Linked DNA regions of Homo sapiens: regions 1 and 2 are each linked to region 3. The links are contacts of gene promoters, found by promoter capture Hi-C in human tissues and cell types (Jung and others, 2019). All regions are on one chromosome and are shown on one strand. The core of a region is centred on a gene start or on the middle of the fragment in contact, and the rest is flanking DNA. Distances in the headings are between cores, read along the strand shown. Region 1 overlaps NIPSNAP1 (nipsnap homolog 1). Region 2 holds the start of CABP7 (calcium binding protein 7). Region 3 holds the start of OSM (oncostatin M).

Region 1 (2,700 bases), core at 164-2,663, 700 kb before region 3:
AGGAGGTTAAGGCTGTGTGAGCTGTGATCACACCACTGCACTCCCCACTGGGTAACAAGACCTGGTTTCAAAAATAAATAAATAAATGAAAATTTAAAAATGAATAAAACTGAAAGGCCAGGCACGGTGGCTCATGTCTACAATCCTAGCACTTTGGGAGGCCGAGGAGGTAGGATCATTTGAGTTCAGGAATTCAAGACCAGCCTGGGCAACATGGAGAAACCCCGTCTCTACCAAAAAACACAAAAATTAGCCGAGCATGGTGGAGCGCACCTATAGTCCCAGCTACTCAGGAAGCTGAGGTGGGAGTACTGCTTGAGCCTGGGAAATTGAGGCTCGAGTGAGCCAAGATTATGCCACTGCACTCCAGCCTGTGTGACAGAGCAAGACCCTGTCTCAAAAAAAAAAAAAAAAAAAAAAAAGGCCGGGAGTGGTGGCTCACTCCTGTAATCCCAGCACTTTGGGAGGCCGAGGCAGGTGGATCACCTGAGGTCAGAAGTTCGAGACCAGCCTGACCAACATGTGAAACCCCATCTCTACTAAAGATACAAAATTAGCCAGGCCTGGTGGCACAGGCCAGTAATCCCAGCTACTCGGGAAGCTGAGGCAGGAGAATATCTTCAACTCAGGAGGTGGAGGTTGCAGTCAGCCAAGACTGTGCCACTATCTGCCAGCCTGGGTGACAGAGCGAGACCCTGTCTCAAAAAAGAAAAAAGAAAAAAAAAAAAAAGGCCGGGTGCGGTGGCTCACACCTGTAATCCCAGCACTTTGGGAGGCTGAGGCAGGTGGATCACCTGAGATCAGGAGTTCAAGACCAGCCTGACCAACATGGTGAAATCCCGTCTCTACTAAAAATACAAAATTAGCTGGGCGTGGTGGCACATGCCTGTAATCCCAGCTACTCAGGAGGCTGAGACAAGAGAATTGCTTAAACTGGGGAGGCGGAGGTTGCAGTGAGCCGAGATTGCACTACTGCACTCCAGCCTGGGGCAACAAGAGTGAAACTCAGTCTCGGAAAAAAAAAGAATAAAAGACAGTGATCCAGGTAAAGCAGGCAAACAAGAAATAATGCTTAAGGCAGAAGAAAGAGAATGAGCAGTAGTCTGGAACTAAAGAGTGAAACTGTCAATCTGAGGAACTGAGTCCTGGGTGGGACAGCACAGCGAGGCATGGAGGATTTGGTGCCATGAGGCTGGGGGCAGGGCCGGGAAGGAGTCACAGGCTTCACGGGTCACCTTGAGGGCACAGGGGAGCCAGGACAGGTATTTGAGCAGGGGAGTGAGGTGATGAGGTTTTAGTAAGAGCCCCACCAGGTGCTGTTGTGGAGAGGGAGTGGAGAACAGCCAGGTGTGAAAGGTGCTGGAGGCCAGGGCTGGGCAGTGGCAATGGCACTAGGGAGGTGAGCGCCTTACCTGCCTGGTCCTGCTCCCCATACCACGTGTTCCAGTTGCCCACGAGTGAGCATGGGTAGTCCTCATCCAGGTGAAGCTTGGGCAGCACAGCCTCCCTGTGGGGGAGGTGCAGAGAGGGGCAGGGTTCACATAGCCACCAGGGCCTCTGAGATAAGGGTTCAAACTCAGTTCAAACAGACCCTGGGGCTGGGCCTCAGACTCTCCATCTCTAAAATGCAGAAGCTAGGCAAGAGGCCCTCAGGACTTCCGACACTGAAATTTACATCCTGGCTGGGCACAGTGGCTCACACCTGTAATCCCAACACTGGGAGGCTGAGGCAGGAGGATTGCTTGAGCCCAGTAGTTTGAGACCAGCCTGGGAAGCAAAGTGAGATCCCATCTCTCTTTTTTGTGTGTGAGACAGAGTTTTGCTCTTGTTGCCCAGGCTGGAGTGCAATGGCGCAATCTCGGCTCACTGGAACCTCCGCCTCCTGGAGACCATCTCTTAAAAAAAAAAAAAAGAAAGAAAGAAAATGGGGCCAAACGCAGTGGCACATGCCTGTAATCCCAGCACTCGGAGGCCGAGGCAGGTGGATCACCTGAGGTCAGGAGTTTGCGACCAGCCGGACTAACATGGTGAAACCCTGTCTCTACTAAATACAAAAAAATTAGCCATGCTTAGCGGCGCATGCCTGTAATCCGAGCTACTTGGGAGGCTGGAACAGGAGAATCGCTTGTACCTGGGAGGCAGAGGTTGCAGTGAGCCGAGATCGCGCCATTGCACTCCAGCCTGGGCAACGAGAGCAAAACTCCATCTCAAAAAAAAAGAAAGAGAGAAAGAAAGAAAGAAAGAAAAAGGCAGAAATAAAAGAAATCTACATCTCCTGGATTTCTACAGAAAAGAACAGGGTGGAGGATGTTCCGCAAATTTGCTGAAAGTGTGTTCCCCACCCAAGCAGGGGATGGGATGTATGGATGCAGGGTGCTCACGTGAGGCTGTTGTAGGCATCCAGGTATTCAGGCTTTACATTGTGAACTGCAACAGAGGACAGAGAACAAGAAGTGAGGTAGGGTGTGTACACAGGGAAGAACTTGGGGTGAGGGGAGCCCATCAAGGCCAGGGGTCCCAGGACAGCTGAGGACATTCCAGACCCTCCCATCTCCTTCCTGGAGCCTCACAGGCCCCCAGAGCCCCTGAAAGGGCAGAAATTGGTCAGCTCAGCAGCCACTCACACTGGATCTTATAGAGGTTGCTGGTTTCCTTCTTGGACAGCAGGGTGGAGTGGGCATCCTTCCGGGGATCCACTTT
Region 2 (2,700 bases), core at 17-2,516, 550 kb before region 3:
CCCCGCTTGGCTGGGGCTAGCATCTCTCACTGAGCCCCTTCTCCCCAGACCCTGAGACAAGGCTGCGATTAATCAGTAACAAAAACAGAAACAAGCAGAAAAGTGTAATCAGCTTGGGAAGGGCAGGGCAGGACCGGGCAGGGCTGTGCAATCAGCGTTCCTGCTGGGACCTTTAGCTGATTGGGCCAAAGGGGGCAGGGAGGTGGTCCCAGTAGGGGGATTCAGGGAAGCACCCAGAGATGGGGCCACAGCCAGGCCAGAAGGTCACCCCCTCCCATGCACATCTGTGCACCATATGCCCACACCACTCCCAGCCCCAGGGCCTGCACACCTCCCCCGACCTGCCAGCGTACAACCTTGGCACACACAGGTGGCCACACACTCCCGACATTTGTCCATCTGCATATGGAGTCACAGACACCTGCGCACGTGCCCAGTGGCACATACACACCCTCATGGATAGCAGACATATGCACACGCAGGCTGCTCCCTCAAACACCTGCCCCCACCCCAGCTCTGGGGTGCCGACGTGCCCTGGGGCCTGGGGAAGCCCTGCACATACATTAGGTCTGAGCTGCAGCCATGTGAACTGGCAGGCCCTCACACCAGACCCCACAGGCACCGGGCCATGTCTCTGTCCCGAACTGCCCTGGGGGCCATGAGACACTTTGGCTCCTCTTCTGCAAGCTGAAAGGTAGGGGCTTGGGAAGGGTCCGGGACTGGGGCCCCATTGTGGGGAGCAAGGTCAGCGGCAGGGTGTCAGTCACAGGCAGGGCAGGAAGCCTACCCCAGACGTGTACCCAGCTCTTACCTGCTGCTCCTGCCCTGTGACCTTGGTCAACGTCCTTCTCTCTCAGCCTCAGTTTCCCCACCTTGGATCCTCCTGGCACGGAAACGGTGACTCTTCTTGAGGACCCAGGTGCTTGGGGCCAGTCTCACCTCTCTGGGTCTACAGTTCTTAGTTCCGGGCTCTCCGCTCCTGGTGCGTGGATGGGGGAAGGTGAGCCAAGGGGCAGGAAGGAGGACCCCCGCAACCCACCCCCTCCCTGGTCCTGGTGGCTGCAGACTTAGGGTGAGGAGAGCCAGTGAACAGAGGGGAGCCCTAGTGGGAAAGGGGAATCGGGGCCGAAGGGGAGAAGGAGCCCCGGGCAGGTTTGGGGCGGCCGCTCAGGGGCCGGCGGCGGGAAGGGGCGGGCTGGGGGTGGGGAGCGCGGAGGGGGCGGGCGGGCGGCTGGCGGGGGAGGCGGGGAGCGCAGCCAGCGCGGCACAGAACGAGCGAGCGAGCGAGCGGAGAGGCGGCTACAGCCTGAGCGCCGGGCCGGTAGCGGCCGCGCCGGCGAGCGGACTAGCGGGCGGCGAGCAGCGCGGAGCGCGCGGGGCACCGAGGAGCGGGCGCGGCGGGCACCGCGCGAGGCAGCCGGAGCTCTCGGAAAGGCCAGAGCGGCGCCGCCCCCGCTGCCCCTGCGGGGCCCCGGCTGGGAGCCCGACGAGGGAGCGGGCGGCATGGCCCGGCGGCCCGGGGCGCGGGGGCGCTAGGCCCCCGGAGGGGCGTCCCCAGCCTCGCCGCTGCCGCCGCCGCCCTCCGCAGCCGCGCGCCCCGCCCGCTCCAGCCGCCCCCGGGGCCGCCACCGGCCCATGAGCCCCGGCCTCAAAGTTTGCGGCGGGCGGGCGGGCGCGGAGCCTCCAAGATGCCGTTCCACCCGGTGACGGCGGCGTTGATGTACCGGGGCATCTACACCGTGCCCAACCTGCTGTCGGAGCAGCGCCCGGTGGACATCCCGGAGGACGAGCTGGAGGGTGAGTGTCCGCCGGGATCCCCGCCCCGGCGGCCCTCCTACCTGTGCGCCCAGGTGAAGCGCGGGCCAGGGGCGCGGGGGCGGGGGGCGGGGGGCGGTCCGCAGGTGCCGGTTGCCAGGTGGGCGCCCCAGCTAGCAGCTGTGCCCCGCGGCAAGACCTGTCCGCACCCCGGGGCGCCGCGGTGGGGGTCGCTCAGGCGGAGAGCGGCCCAGCCCCTGCCCGCGTGGTCCCCAGCGCTGCGGAAACTTGCCGGGCCCCGCAGCGGGGTCACGGGGCCGCGCAGTCGGCGGTGACGGTGCGGCAACGCGGCGGACTGGGGCGGGGGTCCGCGCTGAGCCCCCAGCGCCGGCCCGGCCGGAGCACCCGCATCCTGATCCCCTCCGCGGCGCCCGCCCGCGGCTCTCTGCTCGCATTGACATTCCGCTCGTGTCGCTTTAAAAATTCAATCTGCTCGGGCAGCAGCAGAAGGGGAGAGGGCGACTGCCCTGCTCTTGCCCGCTGCGGGGCCGCCCCCGTCCCCACCTGCGGCCGTAGCCCCTTCCCTGCAGCCCTGCGGGGACCCCCAGCCCGGCGCGCCGGGAAGGCGGCCCGGGAGGCGGTGGCGACAACAAGTGGCCGGACTGGGCGGCTAAGTCGCGATAGCCAAGCCTGGAAGGGAAAGGCAGAGAGGCCAGGACCCAAACCCGCCCCCACCCCGTTCCCCCTGCCTCTCAGACTCGCAGGGGGATGGCAGGCCGCTGGCTGGGCGAGGTCAGAGCAGAGGGCAGGGGCAGGGGTCCGGGACAGTGTGTCCTGAGGAGCAGTGAGACCCCTGGGGCCCGCCCAGCTCCTTCCCTGCTGGGCTGGGGGAGGTGCTGAGGTTTCCCCTCCCCCCAGACCTCCTGGAGCCCCCATATGGAGTGG
Region 3 (2,700 bases), core at 39-2,538:
TCAGCTGCTCTGGCCATCCAGGTAGATGGGCCTGAGAGGGCTTCAGGGCAGGCAGCCCGGGAGCAGCTTGTGTCCTCAGCTCTGTCTAGAACCAGGAGAGGCTGCCTTTTCAACCAGAGGTGCAGCCTGGAACAGATGTGGAAGACCTTCCAGTCCATGTCCCCACTTTCCTGACAGGTAAACCAAGTCTCAGGAGAAGGTCCTACTCAGGTCACACAAGGCCAGGGCTCTCCCCTGACCTCTCTTGCCTCCCTCCTCTCTCCATAAGTGGCTCCTTCTGTCAGGCCCACCAGGGATGCTGTGAGCCTGTCAGAAGGTGTTGGGGGCGGGTACAGTTACCGCTCACCACCACCCCCAACGGGGCACCGGCAGCCACGTGGTCGGAAGGGGCCTATGGCGCAATGGCCCGGAAGGCAGTGACACCATCGTTCCCGTCCTAAGAACCATCCGGCCCTTTGGGGAAGACTGGCTGTTGGGGAGGGCCAAGGGGCCAGGCACCCAGGCTTAGCGACCCCACGGCACCCTCGCCGCCTCCCCAGGTATCTGCTGCCGGGCTCTGGCAGGGGCCTGTGCCTGTGGCAGCGCACGTGGGACTGGGGTTTCTGTGTGGCTGTGCATCTGGGTCTGTGTGCGGCGTGAGGGAGACCTGTTCCGTTCACCATGGGGACTCTGGTCTGCATGTGGGGGTTCCTGGGCTGGTGAGATCCAGGGCTGTAGATGACGTCATATGGCTGTGTGCGCATGTGGCCATGTGGGTGTGGCTGTGCATGCTGTGTGATTGTGTGGGCCCTGGGGCCCCCAGGCCTGGCTGACTTTCTATTCATCCCGGGCAAGCTGGAGGCCCCACAACCCCTCCACACCTCACACCACTTCCCTGCCCAGCTTCTGAGCCTCCCTCTCCTGCCCAGCCTCTTTGCCCATCCTATTCTCTCACCCCCTGGTTCCCAGAGTTGCCTCTACATCTTGACATCACCTCCCCCTGGAAGCCTTCCAGGGATGCCCCTTCTCTACCTGTGGAGATGCCAGGTTCTCAGTGGACCACTCTCTCTGCCTGACCTCCTGGCTCTCTCCCCTTCTCAGCATCCTTCTGCCTGGCGCCTGGCCTCCCCAGTTCCCGGAGGGCAGAGGGTGCCTCTGCTCCCCACCGGCACCCGTGGGCAGACCCAGCAGGCGGGTTCTGGCGGGGAGGAAGGAAGTACTTACTGAGCAGCGTCCTCTGTGTGAGCAGTACCCCCATGCTGGGTGCCCGTGCTCCGGCCCGCGCCCGCTGGGGGTGACACCTCTCGGCTGGGAGCCCTGCAGGCTGGCAGCCACTTTATGCCCGCTGGGGCGATTGGCCAACACCTCATGAGGTGGGTGGGGATGGGGAGGGGGGAGGGCAGGCCTTCTGGGAACATGACCCCAAAAACCAAAATTTCCACGGGCGGCCAATGGGCGCAGGGCGCGGTGTATGCCCGCTCCTCCTCCTGTTTTCTTCGAATTCGTTCTTCGAGGTCAGCCCTACGCCCAAGGATGATGTAAAACCGCAGCCTCAGCCTTCCTAGGGTGAGTGGGGAGGAAAAGGGTCCATGCCATCTTCAGGGAACTGGGCCAGGGATGGGCAGGAGGGACTTCGAGCTGGGCCTCTGGAGGCCCCAGGCCAGTCTTGGCCCAGGAGCCATTGGCCTCACAGGACACGGTGGTTGGGGGCTGAGGGGAGCGAGACATCTTCCTTCTTGAGTGCCCTTCCTGCCCTCTCGCCGGGGCTGTTGGGACATCTGTGAGCGGAAACCACCGGGCTCTGGGCACAGAGCCAGACGCAGGCTGGCAGCCCCGAGATTGTGGTTCAGGCCCCAGGACCAGCATCCCCCAGCCCGGCTCCCGACGGTCTCCTTTCCCCCATCGTGCACCCTCTGCCAGGCCCACTCCCCAAAGCCAGGCCTTGTCTTTGTAGGCAGGCTCCACTGGGGAGAACTGGACACTTGGAGCAAGAGAAACAGGAGGCCAGGGTTCAAGCCTGCTGAGGTGCTGTGTGACCTGAGGCAAGTCACTTAACCTCTCTGGGCCTCAGAGACCCACAACTATAAAATGAGGAGGAGAAAAGCCTTTCCCAGCCCACCTCACAGGGTTGCTGCCAGCATGGACATAAAAGGAAAAGACCTCTGAAGGAAAAAGCAAAGATGAAGGTCTGATTCCAAGTATTAGCTGTCGAGGGGGCGGGATGGGGGAAGGAGGAGATGGGGAAGCTGTGAGCTCAGAGGGGAAGCCGGGGAGGGGGAGTTGCCGCCTTGACAGTTGGGGACCAGGTTTCACTTTCTCTGAAAGATAGCGATCTTAGGTTGGTCCTCTGCGAAAGGGCCCTGGGAACAGCGCCTCCCTAGTCAAACTGCTACTTTACTGTGGGGTAAACTGAGGCCTGGGTGAAGGCAGACAGGGAGGCCAAGAGGCTGGCCCAGGCCTATAGACCCTGCCTGGTCAGCACATCTCCCAGGCCCAGAGGAGGGTCCTTGGCCTGCACCCTAAGAAGCCCGGGTGGGAGGAGGCCCTCAGGAGTCTGGGGAGTCAGGGTGGGACTCCTGGAGGCTGCCAGGGAGGCCTGAGCTGCTCCAGCTGGAGGGAGCATGGGGTCTGGGGCGCCTGAGCAAGGAGAGCTGGGGCAGCCAGAAAGGAGGAGGTTGGATGCACCCCTGTCCATGCCTGCTCCCGATGCCCACTGTGGCC

What was found. Contacts are between HindIII fragments. The study calls those that stand out against the background at their distance.
Region 1: a fragment that was not itself captured here is called in contact with the fragment with the promoter of OSM in region 3 in 1 of the 25 tissues and cell types used here (lymphoblastoid cells).
Region 2: the fragment with the promoter of CABP7 here is called in contact with the fragment with the promoter of OSM in region 3 in 3 of the 25 tissues and cell types used here (mesenchymal stem cells, small bowel and spleen).

What each region holds. Positions count from the first base shown.
Region 1 is chr22:29,567,781-29,570,480 of GRCh38, forward strand. It overlaps NIPSNAP1 (nipsnap homolog 1), which reads right to left. Exons shown (of 10, transcript NM_003634.4): 2 at 2,625-2,700; 3 at 2,382-2,427; 4 at 1,413-1,507. Among named protein-coding and RNA genes, the nearest start is that of NIPSNAP1, 12 kb to the right of the region's middle. RefSeq lists an enhancer at 1,400-1,694. The HindIII fragment of the contact is 3,498 bases long and covers 1-2,700 here.
Region 2 is chr22:29,718,737-29,721,436 of GRCh38, forward strand. It overlaps CABP7 (calcium binding protein 7), which reads left to right and starts at 1,267. Exons shown (of 5, transcript NM_182527.3): 1 at 1,267-1,797. The coding sequence starts at 1,689. It overlaps CABP7-DT (CABP7 divergent transcript), which reads right to left and starts at 1,167. Exons shown (of 3, transcript NR_186695.1): 1 at 812-1,167. RefSeq lists an enhancer at 2,576-2,700. The HindIII fragment of the contact is 29,567 bases long and covers 1-2,700 here.
Region 3 is chr22:30,265,563-30,268,262 of GRCh38, forward strand. OSM (oncostatin M) reads right to left here and starts at 1,289. Exons shown (of 3, transcript NM_020530.6): 1 at 1,204-1,289. The coding sequence starts at 1,237. RefSeq lists enhancers at 453-532, 593-692. The HindIII fragment of the contact is 14,267 bases long and covers 1-2,700 here.